Regions from separate parts of the Homo sapiens genome. Here all the other regions are linked to region 1. Evidence: promoter capture Hi-C in 16 types of primary human blood cells and fetal thymus (Javierre and others, 2016). All regions are on one chromosome and are shown on one strand. Each heading gives the region's core, a stretch centred on a gene start or on the middle of the fragment in contact. The rest is flanking DNA. Distances are from core to core; before and after follow the strand shown. Region 1 holds the start of TADA1 (transcriptional adaptor 1). Region 2 overlaps POU2F1 (POU class 2 homeobox 1). Region 3 holds the start of RCSD1 (RCSD domain containing 1).

Evidence for each region. Contacts are between HindIII fragments. The CHiCAGO score rates a contact against its expected background, and 5 or more counts as called.
Region 2: a contact is called between a fragment that was not itself captured here and the fragment with the promoter of TADA1 in region 1, in 1 of 17 cell types (naive B cells). The highest score is 5.4, in naive B cells.
Region 3: a contact is called between the fragment with the promoter of RCSD1 here and the fragment with the promoter of TADA1 in region 1, in 3 of 17 cell types (fetal thymus, activated CD4 T cells and monocytes). The highest score is 6.7, in fetal thymus.

What each region holds. Positions count from the first base shown.
Region 1 is chr1:166,874,068-166,877,802 of GRCh38, reverse strand. TADA1 (transcriptional adaptor 1) reads left to right here and starts at 1,539. Exons shown (of 8, transcript NM_053053.4): 1 at 1,539-1,643. The coding sequence starts at 1,570. RefSeq lists an enhancer at 1,153-1,202 and silencers at 1,603-1,652, 1,683-2,082. The HindIII fragment of the contact is 11,749 bases long and covers 1-3,735 here.
Region 2 is chr1:167,395,339-167,399,219 of GRCh38, reverse strand. It overlaps POU2F1 (POU class 2 homeobox 1), which reads right to left. Exons shown (of 16, transcript NM_002697.4): 10 at 2,793-2,934; 11 at 1,087-1,226; 12 at 1-34. Among named protein-coding and RNA genes, the nearest start is that of CD247, 120 kb to the left of the region's middle. The HindIII fragment of the contact is 1,911 bases long and covers 547-2,457 here.
Region 3 is chr1:167,628,486-167,632,750 of GRCh38, reverse strand. It overlaps RCSD1 (RCSD domain containing 1), which reads right to left and starts at 2,519. Exons shown (of 7, transcript NM_052862.4): 1 at 2,322-2,519. The coding sequence starts at 2,327. RefSeq lists an enhancer at 1,733-1,802 and silencers at 2,343-2,562, 2,583-2,662. The HindIII fragment of the contact is 3,174 bases long and covers 923-4,096 here.

The DNA of each region.
Region 1 (3,735 bases), core at 290-2,789:
CGTAAAGGGGAAGAGCCATGTGATTTGTTAAAGTCAAGTTAACTAGAATGCTGAGTCCAAGTGTGGGGTTATGTGGGAAGGCCAGTGGTGTGTGAGGTACACAGGTAGGGTGAGTTCAGATCATGAGAACATTTGAATGCTGGAGTCTGGAATTTGTTCAGCAGAGCGTGGGGAGCCATGGAAAACTTAAGTGGATATTTTTTAAATGTGTCAAAACTTACCCAGAGTTTTGACACAGAGAGGAAGACTTTGCCTGACCTTTGTATCTCCTTTCACCTGTGTATCTCCAGTACTCAAAGAGTTCCAGACACATAATAGGAGCTCACTGTATGAATTCAAGTGAAGAGAAGGTGCCCGGCTGGCATTGCAGCCAGGACAGGGCTTGTGGGTTTAGGTTGGGCAGTGAGGAAGTTGAATGAATGAACTTAAGGGGACATCTTTGGAGAAATTACACAAGATCTAAAAGCTATCTAGGATTATTTAAAAAACTTTGGGAGGCAATTTGACAATATACACCAAGGCATTTATAAATATTCCCATCATTTGATCCAGTAATTCTATGTGTGGGACTCTATGCTAAAGTAATAATCCTAAAGGAGGAAAAGTTTTATGCATAAAGAAGTTTTGCTTCATTATGCTATATGCTTCAAAAGCAATATTACAGTATTGCTTTTTAATAGAGAAGAAATGGACACAGTCTAACAATTGGGAAACAAGTTGTGTACCTTCTATCTGTGGGGGTATTTAATATGTTGTCATTAAAATTATTCTAAAGACAATGTAATACTACAGATAAATCCTTAAGTTTAAAAACGTGCAAAATTGAACATAGAATATTTTAAGTCATGGGAGTGTGCGAAGTGAAGGAGAAATCTCTCTCAGTTAAGTGTTTGTCCGGGAGTGGTAAAACACTTTTTCCTTCTTTTTATCTTTATCTTTCTGTGTATTTTCCAAATTTTACATAGTTACCTCATTTACTCAAATACTTATTAAGCATCCACTATGTGCCAGGCGCTGCTCTAGAGAATTGCGGGTAACAGTGAATAAAACACAACTCCTGTCCTCGAGCCATAACATTTACAAGATAAATCAACTAAATGTCATATGAGACGGTTAGTGCTCGGGGAAAAATAAGGCAAGGAAAGAGTAAAACTGATACTGCATTTACTTTTTTAAATGGAGGGGTAAGGTACTCCTCCAGGCAGAAGAACAGCAGGCTGAATTCGGAATTGCCCCAGCGGTAACAGAATGAAAGAGCTTGGGACACGCCAGCCTGTCAGCAACGTTGCAGCCGAGGCGGGGCGCGCGGGTTTAGGATGGGCGCGCGACAAGGTGAAGCGGATCACGTGACTCGAGGGGCGGGAGGAAGAGAGCAGAGTTTGGCCGGGCACCTTCCCTGCGAAAAGGCGGGCGGAGCCGAAAACCAAACAAACGACTTCTGAGAGATTGGGGGCGGGACTGACGGCGGCCGGCTTAGCTTCCAGAGCCAAGGCCTTCCGCCGAGTTGGTTTTTGGGTTGTTGATCGCGGTGGCCGGGCGGTCTGCGGTCGGGCTGAGACACGCGGAGCAATGGCGACCTTTGTGAGCGAGCTGGAGGCGGCCAAGAAGAACTTAAGCGAGGCCCTGGGGGACAACGTGAAACAGTAAGAGCTGCCCTAGCACAGCGTCCAGGCCAACACGCGGGTGCTCTCCTGGCCTCGGGCTGCCAGCCCGCCCCGGAGACGCCCGCGTCGCCCGGGGGCCTGTGCAGCCTGGAGTCCGCGGCGGCGGGGCTTCGGGGTTTCTCCGGCCGGGGCGGGGCGGGCCACCTGAACTCACCGCCCTGGAGAGACCGGGCCTCCTGGGCGCCCGGGAGACATCGGCGGGCGCCGTTGCTCGGGACTGTCTGCCCTGGGTGGGGCGGGAGAAGCGCACTTCGCACCCAAGGGCCTGCTGAGCAGGTGCGGGCCCCAGCGCGGGCGTGCGGGATGCGGGAGGCTGACTTGGGCGGAGTGAGCCGGAGCCCTACGCGTCCAGCCAGAGGGCATAGCGCAGGGCGGCCCGCCCCTGGAGGGCTTCCTGGAGGTGGAGGCCTGTTGAGCTGGTGTGATCTGCTACGGATTATTGGTAAGCTCTTTTGACAGCAATTTCGTAAGGCAGACGGACCCTCTGGTGAAATCACAGTCATTGAACACTACAATTATAGTGATGATAGCAGTAGCGGACATTTTAAACATTTTAAGCTCTCTAAATATATTATCTAATCCTTACAACAGATGTGAGATAGGTACAGTTGTTATTCCCATTTGACAGATGAGAAGACTGAGACCTAGTGCGGACAAGTAACTCTTCAAAAGTCACTGTCAGAGTTGGGACCCACGCTTTTGATTCCCGACTGATGCATTAGAGGGGCTGTAAAGGATCCCAGAGACGCTCAGCCAGACCTTCATCCAGGTTATGGCAGGGGACCTAGTGCACAGTCAGGTTAGGTGCAGAATGGCCAAGGGTAAAATCAGTATCCAGTCAAAGCCAAAGCCAAAGAGCAAAAAAGGAACCTCTGGGATACAAGGAAGAGTTTGGAAATTTTCAAAACGTTGTTATTACAACTTTATTTTTCAAAAATATAGGAAGCAAATATAAACGTTTAAAATTACAGTGCCTGTGTTGTTGCTGCTAGATGGCTTCTCTGGTATTCTACACATTTGCATTACTCAGTGGATGCATACTTTTAAATGATGTTGGTGGAGGAGCAATTTGGGAATACTTAATTTTTCTCCAATACTTTCTTTTCATCCTTCTCTGTTCTTTATTATTACTGGATTGAAATTACTTAGGTTGGATGTCATACATGAATTTTGGAGTTTTTCCTTCATGTGAAATTTTGGGGTGGCAGAGTTGACAGTCTACTTTTCATCCTAACAAGATAATAATGGAAACTATAAAAAGATTAAAATTAAAATCTAAACTGTTATTTTAGCATAATTATTTAATTTTTGGTGAACATTTATTTACGCCCAGAGATATGTTTCACTTTGTGTTTGGGGGTTGGGGTCTTGCTCTGTGGCAGAGGCCGAAGTACAGTGGCCTGATCACACAGTTCACAGCAACCTTGATCTCCTGAGCTCAAGAGATCCTCCCCTGCTGTGAGCCTATAACTGGGACTGTAGGCACGCCCCGCTAATCCTGGCTAAAGTTTTTTTTTTCAGAGACAAAGTCTTGCTGTGTTGCCCAGGCTGATCTCAAATCCTGGCCTCAAGCAGTCCTCCCGCATTGGCCTCCCAAAGTTCTGGGATTACAGGCATGAGCCACCACACCCGACTATAGTGTACCACCGAAAATTGTCTTTCGATATTGATGTTCACTGTGCTTATTGAATTAAATATTCTTACTTATTTTAATAGGTAAAATTGACAGCTTTCACCCTAATTACTGTAGCTTTTTACTTTTGTAATACCGACTGATAAAATTTACCTTTTTTTTTTTTGAGATGGAGTCTTGCTCTGTCGTCCAGGCTGGGGTGCAGTGGCATGATCTCCGCTCACTGCAGCCTCCACCTCCTGGGTTCAAGCACTTCTCTGCCTCAGCCTCCTGAGTAGCTGGGATTACAGGCACCTGCCACCACGCCCGGCTAATTTTTGTATTTTTAGTAGAGATGGGGTTTCACCATCTTGGCCAGGCTGGTCTTGAACTCCTGACCTCGTGAGCCACCCGCCTTGGCCTCCCAAAGTGCTGGGATTACCGACGTGAGCCACCGCG
Region 2 (3,881 bases), core at 253-2,752, 520 kb before region 1:
TCATAGTGATCTCTTCCGAGGTAGGCTTTTGATTCTGCAGGGTGAAAAGATGTAATTCCAAAAGCTATCCTTTGCAATAACTTTTTGAACTACTGGCATAATCACGTCAGGTTAGAAAATGAAGCTGGGATACATATGACCATCCACATTAGGCCACTTTCAACAAAGAGATTGTGTAGATAGAAGTTCTAATGAACATACACCTATTAAACTTATTCATATTAACTTAGGATAAGTTATCCTTAAATATCTATAGTTTTTCATTTTTAAGATCTATTAATTGTGAATGAAATTAACAAAATACCAGTACAACCACATGTATTAGTAGGAATTTAACCTTTCTCCATGCTTCATGCTATCTAATTTGGATCTCACAGTAAGAAAGGCAGGTATTTCACAATGAAGGACCTTTAGCTTAAAGAAATCACATGATTTGCCCAATCACACAGTTTAAGTGGCAGAGCTGACAAAAACTCCTAATTCAGAGTCCTCCCAATGTGCTCAAGTCTTTTCTGAATTAGAGAAGTCAAAATTTTCTTAAAAGCTTTGTTATGATATTACCTGGTACAAAAAAATAATTGCCAAATATCTCTTGCATTAACTTAAGCTCCATAGCCTAACACTCAAGGTCTCTAGTGTTCCAGTCCCAAACTACTATTCCAGGCATACAGACACTACAATTTAACCAACCAATCTACTAGAGTGTCTCCTCATACACCCTATGGTTTCCCTCACTCCAGTGTTTCTCCCCCACTCTGAGGGGGAAACGCTCATGCATTTCCTCTGCTTAAAGTACTTTCCCCCCACCTTTTCTAGTCTGTGGAATTAATTCCTATGTATCCTATGGTAAGCTGCCACCTCTCTCATACTGAGTGCTTGCATGGATGTGATTCTAGTCTCTCCTGAACCCTGCAGAACTCTGGTTCTGTCTCCTATGTTAGTAACTTACTTACTTCACCTATTTATAATCATCCATAAGAGCAGAGGCTGACATGTCATCTTTTACCACCTACAGTTTCTACTAAGTACTAATGTTAAGTACTACACAGACAATCCCATGTACAGAAAAGTAAAATCCTCACTGACCTCCAAGAAACTCTTCTCTAAGGCCACACGGATGTTGGTCTCTATGCTGGTGCGTTTCTTCCTCCTACGGCTCAAGCCCTCAATTCCTGGAGAATTCAGGGCACTTGGGCTGGAGAGGGACGAATCAGATGAGAGGTTCTCTGTAAGAATGAAGAAAATACAGAAATAAAATTAGCTGAGCACAGTGATTCATGTGCATAATATGCATATTAACAACAAAACTGACAAAATAAGCTACATCCAAGTATGAAAAGGTTTTCACATAACCTACATTACAATATTGCTTATTGGCCGGGCATGGTGGTTCACACCTGTAATCCCAGCACTTTGGGAGGCTGAGGCGGGAGGATCACTTGAGGTCAGGAGTTCAAGACCAGCCTGGCTAAATGGTGAAACCCCATCTCTACCAAAAATACAAAAATTAGCTGGGCACAGTGGCGTGCGCCTGTGGTCCCAGTTACTTGGGAGGCTGAGGCAGGAGAATCACTTGAACCTGGGAGGTGGAGGCTGCAGTGACCTGAGATGGTGCCACTGCACTCCAGCCTGGACAACAGAGTGAGACCATGTCTCCCCCTACCCACCACCCATCCCCCCAATATATATATATTTACTACCATGGATATTTCTGCTGCCCTTATTGGCATTCTTTCTGCTAGGATGGTTGACAATATTACCACTATGTTTGGATTTCTGTTTCTGAGACAGAAGAGGTTTACTATTCCTATCCTTAAACTCAGCTCTATGTCTCCAGTTCTGTTTGTTTATAAGTTCTGGGGATAAAAGGAAGAAAGTTTCTTAGAAATTACTGAACGTTTAATATTTATCTTGTAAATGGCCTCTCATTTTATTGGTATAATCTAGGGTAAAAAGAAAAGAAACAAATGAAATATTTATAAATTCTCTGAAGTTAAATCACAGGGTTCTATAATTTCACAGTTTAATAACCTTGGGCATGTCATACACATCTGAGTTTGTTTCTGCTACACGTAAAATAAGATGGAAACAGTAAACCAGTGGTTCTTATCTGTGGACTTGGGAAACAGATGCCTAGGCCTCACCCATAGCTACTGAATAAAACTGTCCAAGGATGCGTGTTTCAGGTTTGTCTTTTCCAAAGGCCTAATTTTTGTTCATATCTACAATAAGAACCATAGTTTAAGGGATCTACATGACTCCTACAGCTTTCATAGTCTATGATCCTGTGACTCAAAATTCCAATCTTCCAAAAGGAACTCTCAGCACAAAAAAACGTAAGACAAAGCTAGTAGTCCAACTTTTCTGAATGAAATGTGTGGTCATTTGAAATAACAAAAGCAGAACTATTGCAAGAACAAGTTCTATGATAATTCATCAAGGAAGAAACAATAAGCTTCTACTTCAAGCTTATCTAAATACAAAAGCCTTACTTATCCTATTCCTTCAACTGTGTGTGTGTGTGTGTGTGTGTTCCTAATCCTGGCTCAAATACAAGAGTATTTCAGGCTAAAAATTACGGCTAATTATTTATACTGTAATTACTAGAATATTTAAATGAATCAGCTTTCTGATTTATATCACCATAATTTATAATGATCCTCCCAGGATTAGTAAGCTTCAAGGTTCTGTAACAACAAAAATAGAGTAAGAAATATAAACCCCAATTTATATAACAATCCCCATGTAAAATTCCAATGAATGACAAAGAAATGTCTTATACAGTCACTTACCTGCATCATTTAGCCACTTCTCTAAAAGTGGCTTCAACTTGCACATGTTCTTAAAGCTGAGGTTCAAGGCTTCAAATCGAGAGATGGTAGTTTGGCTGAAGTCATTTCCATATAGTTTCCCCATAGCGAGCCCAACATCACCCTACACACAATACAGAGCAGGAGAAGAGGAGAGGAAAGACAGAGTTATCTCACCAGTGCTTAAAGCCTTCACTCTGGGGTGTTGCTCCAATAACTGCTTTAGACAAGGAGTCAGTAATTATTCCACTTACGGGGTCCCACATAAACTCCATCCCTAAGCCAGTCACAGTGTTACTGTGAGGACTCTTTTAGGCCTGATCGTTACAATGTTCAATACTGTCCCACATACTTTCCCATTTTGAATCTCTTCTTGCCACCTTATGTAATCATGGAGATACCAAAATTTCAACTAGGTATCAAAAATAGTGCTAATATTCTAACAAGCCCCTTAATTGATACAACCAAAGTGATTTAAGTAATTTTTAAAAATGTATTTATCTGGTCTGGGCACAGTGGCTCACACCTTTAATCCCAGCATTTTGGGAAGCCTAGGCCTACATGGGTGGAATGCTTGAGCCCAGGATTTCCAGACCAGCCTGGAGAACATGGCAAAACATCTACAAAAAATACAAATATTAGGCAGGTATGGTGGCGTGTGCCTGTAGTCCTAGCCATTTGGGAGGCTGAGGTGGAAGGATCGCTTGAGCCCAGGAGGTCAAGGCGGTAGCAAGCCGTGATCATGGCACCGCACTCCAGTCTGGGTGACAGAGCGAGATCCTGTCTCAAAAAAAGAAAAAAATTTAAAAAAGAAAAATAAAAATAAATTTATCTGTATCACCTACAGATATTATGTATAACTCTCTAGATAACCCAAGATATTTACGAACTAATCAAACTTCCCAAAAATCACTTTAAAAATTAGAAATCATCTCTTTTCTTCTTTTCCCTATCAAGTATTTCTGGACGCAGTGAAAAAAAAATCTATTTTCACTCCTAGTTTGGATTTCAAAGTTAGTTACAAAAAACAGGTATTCTAAAAGACTACTTTTGTAACCATCATAGAAATAG
Region 3 (4,265 bases), core at 1,270-3,769, 750 kb before region 1:
TTCAAAAGCAGCCACTGTCCAACCAGCAAATTGATGGACTAGGCTTAGTGACCTACTGGATGTGAGACGCAGGGTGATTTGTCAGGCTTCTGGCTGGCTGAGCTATTCCCTCCCTGCGTCCCTCCCAAACCCTAGCACGGGAGTGATTTTGGTATCTTGGTGGAATCCTGCATAAGTTACTACACATCTCAATAAGGGAGGGCCTTCTCTTTTACTGCAATCCCCTCCACCCCCCAAGCCACACAGGAAGTTGCTCAGCTGATAGTTTCAGGGCCTCTGCCATACACTATTCCTTCCTCATCTGAGGGGGGAGAAACTGCCTCTGTGGAAGGAGACCCTCCTTGTTTTCCTAGAACAAAGTTGACACTTGCATTTGGCCCTCCAGCAGCAACCTGCTTGAAGTCTAAGAGTTGCTTTTCTCTTATCTCCAATCCTTTTCTTCAAGAGGTTAGACAGGCCATACATCATAGTGAATCTGCAGCCTGGGGCCTAAGGCAGTTTGTACACTTCCAGAAGAGGGAAGCCACTTCTAAAACAATTTCTTAAGGAGACTTCACCCAACCCAAGAAGCTGGGTGTTGCCTGGGCCATTTCCCTCCTCTGCCCTGAAGCAGTGGCCAGCTCAGAGAGAACCCTGTTGTTTTGTGTTTGTGTGATCTTTGGGTGGATGTGTGCACACCACCTGCTGAGCTTCGCTGTGTGCGTGCCTCACCGCCAGCCCTAATCTGCCAGAGCTTCCTGGCCTTGCAAATGTTTCTGTGGAGGGTCCATATTAGACTCCAGTGGTTCTTGCAGTCTATAAAGTCTCCTTGAAGGTGATTCCCTGTTCCTTGAAGACAACTGGCTGGGCTGGATGCCTGAATATAGCTCCCTGACTTCTCTAAAGGACAAACTTATTGCCCCTTTAGAGAAGTCATGAAGCTTTGCCGGCAAGCACAGAGTCTAGCTTAGAAAACACAACCAGGGCCAGGAGTGGTGTGGCTCATGCCTGCAAATCCAGCACTTTGGGAGGCCAAGGCTTAGAGGATCACTTGAGCCCAGGAGTTCAAGACCAGCATGGGTAATATAGTGAGAACTTGTCTCTACAAAAAATTTTAAAACTAGCCAGGCATGGTGGTACACACTGGTAGTCCCAGCCACTTGGGAGGCTGAGGTGGGAGGATCCTTTGAGCCTGGGAGGCAGAGGTTGCAGTGAGCTGAGATTGTGCCACTGCACTCCAGCCTGGGTAACAGAATGAGACCCTGTCTCAAAAGAAAAAAATAAAAAGACCACCAGGGCCCAGGCACAGAGCCTGGAGCGGGGAAGAGATAGCGGAGTTAACTGTGAATCCTGATTGCACTGACCACAGTCTAGTGAGCAACACATGTTTCCTTTTGAATATGAGTGGGAATCACCTTTAAAACTATATAACATTTGCATCTTCTCAAAAGCCCCAGGTCCTACTAAGATTGACTTAGGGCTACATATCAGGTCTCATTTTCAAGGAGGAAACACAGGGAAGCCTCAAGATGTGCAGAAGAGAGGGATGTGGGGAATACACCCAACCACTCCTCTGCTGAGGTTGGAACAGAACAAGGAAAGTCCCCGGACCTCCTCTCAGCAGGCAGAGAAGTGCGGGGCCTCCCTCTGGCAAAGCCTGCAGATGTGGCCAGCATACCTCCATACACACAGCTTCAGAGGCAAGGGTGTCCAAGGGAGTCTTAAGTTTTATCAGAAATAATGTCATTCGACTGACCAGTAAGGGGAGCTTTCAGAAAGTTATGGAAGAAGATGCGACAGACACAGGAAGGACTTCAGAAGCAAGAAGACAACTGGACTCTCTAAAATGCCACTCCGAAAGCGAAAAGGGAAGCCCACAGACCCACGAAGACGTGCTGGCCTCGTGTTGCCAGTTCTGTTTCTCTTTCAATACCCATCTCTTCAGATTGAAGGGCTTCTGCCTTCTTGCAGTTTTTGCTGACACGTTTACCCATTTACAAACCTTGGCTGCACCTAACTTTTTTTTTTTTTTTTTTTTTTTTTTTTTTTTAGCATTTAAGTTCCTAGCCAAAATACCCGGGCCTCTAGGAAAGCCCTTTTCTCTCCCTCTGAGATCTTTCCTTACCAACCCCAGCCTCCCAACCCGGGTGTCCTAGGTGGGACCAGGGACGATCCTTCGGAGTTGGTCAAGGAGGCGTCGGAACAGCAGGCATTTGCCCTTCTAGTTGGCAGCAGCGATGAGCCGCGTGCTCCATGCTCAGGGCAGGGGCAGCCGCCCGGGGAAGGGGCGCCCGATACACCGCTCACCGCTCAGCCCCGCGTCTCCCTCCGGGGTCCTTTACCTCCATGTCCTTCAGGTGCCGACTCTGCGGCAGACGCACCCGCTCGCCCGGGCCGGAGCTCACGATCCCCGCTGTCCCCTCCGCTCCCGGCCGTGGCCAGTTTCGGGCTGCGGCGGGCACAGGGCGAGTGGGCGGTGGCGCGCGCCCGGCTGCGCTCGGCTGCGGGACTGCCCCGGCCGCGGGGGCCCTGCGCGAGAGAACGAGGAAGGAGGAGGAGGGAGGGAGGGAGGAAGGGGAGGGGAGGGGAGGGTGGGGAGCGGGGAGGGAGGCCGACGATCAGGGTTTAAATTTAGACGCAAATCTAAACAGATACTGTCCCTCCCAGGGCAGGACTCAAGAGCGGGAGCCACGACTCCATGTGCCCAAACATGGGGATGGGCAGCCACCGGGCCCCTCTGTCTCGCGAAGTTTCTCAGGACCCTGGGCTTTGCCACGGTCTCAGTCCTTCTCAACGTCTCCCTCCCTTAATGCGCCTTCTTTCTTTTTCCTGTCCCTTCAAGAATTAGAGTGGTCCTTTAATTCTTTTTGTTTCCTCTCTTTTCGATTTCCTTCTTTTGTGTCCATCCTTCCTGCTTTCCTTCTTCCTCTCCCTCTTTTTAAAATTGCATTACTGTCATACCTGGTTTCCCTGCAGTTCTTGGGTGGAGTTCGAGGACCCTCCCTGGTGGAAGGCGTTTGTGTTCTACCAAAAGAGGAGCCCTTCTGACCGAGGCTTCAGAGCTCAGCGTGGCGCCGACGGGACCACCTTTCCCTTCTCACCTCTTTTCCTCTCCACCTTCCAGGAAACCACTATCTATCCATCTATCCATCTATCTTCTGTATACGAGTAGAAGGAGGAGGAGGAGGAGGAAAATCAGGAATCCACGCAAAGTTTTCCAAGCTCCCTGAAGTGGTAAATCTTTTCTTCAAACCTTGCTTTGACTGATGCATTCGGTTTTGTGGGAATTTTGGCTCCCACAAGCTGCTTGCTAAAGGGCCTCGTCTCCATTCCTGTTAAATATAGCAAAGGGCAAGATGCTCAACATCTGATTCCCATAGGGCCCAGCATAGCAACCTTCCTTTAGGGCCATCCCGGCTGGGCAGCAGAGACCGCATGGGAGGGATTCGGGGACTGGAATCTGCACCAGGGTCACTCCCTGCTACCCGGATCCCGGCCCCCTTCAGACCCTTCGGCAGAGAGAAACAGGAAAATGCCTTGAGAGACCTGTGAGTGCCAGGGTATTGGCTGGGTATATGACGCCTCTGGGTTATCCCACAGCATTCTCACCCGCCCAACCCCAGCTCAACCAGGGGAGGGGAGCCCCATCAGAGGTGGGCAATGGGACAGGTGATGGTGAGCACTGTGAAGAGACATGTGGAGAAACAGTAGAGAAAAAAGGCTGAGAGTCTGCTCCTGCTACAAAGACTACCCTGATTCTGGTTATCCCGGCACCATCTTTGCACTTTCAGGCACTTAGATTGCTGCTTTGGGTACCAGTCTTAGAAATATGGCCTCCTTCCTGTCCTAGAACTTTCTAAGGCCCAACTTTCTAAAACACTGGCAGCCCTAATGCCAGAGTGGCTTCTAGTTCTTTAGCTTAGCTAAGCATAGAGGAAGACGCCTGGTTTTAGGAACAGACAGATTGAGGGCTGAATTCCAGCTCTGCTACTTTCTAGTTGTATTTTTTAGACAAGTCACTTAACTGCTCTGATTCTCATTTTCCTCACCTATACAATGTAGTAGGCACTCTGCAAAAAGTGGCTGTTTTTATCATGCTTAGCCCCATGTACAAGCTTCAGATGAATAAGAGCCTGATATTTCTTTTATTTAGAGACAGGCACTCGGGGACCCAGTGAAAAGAGCCCTCACTCCCAGGAATTAATAGTGAGGCCCCTCCCAGTCCAGCCACATGGCTGCTCAGGTGAAGACTCGAGAGCAGAGTCGGCAGTAAGGAAGGGTATTTA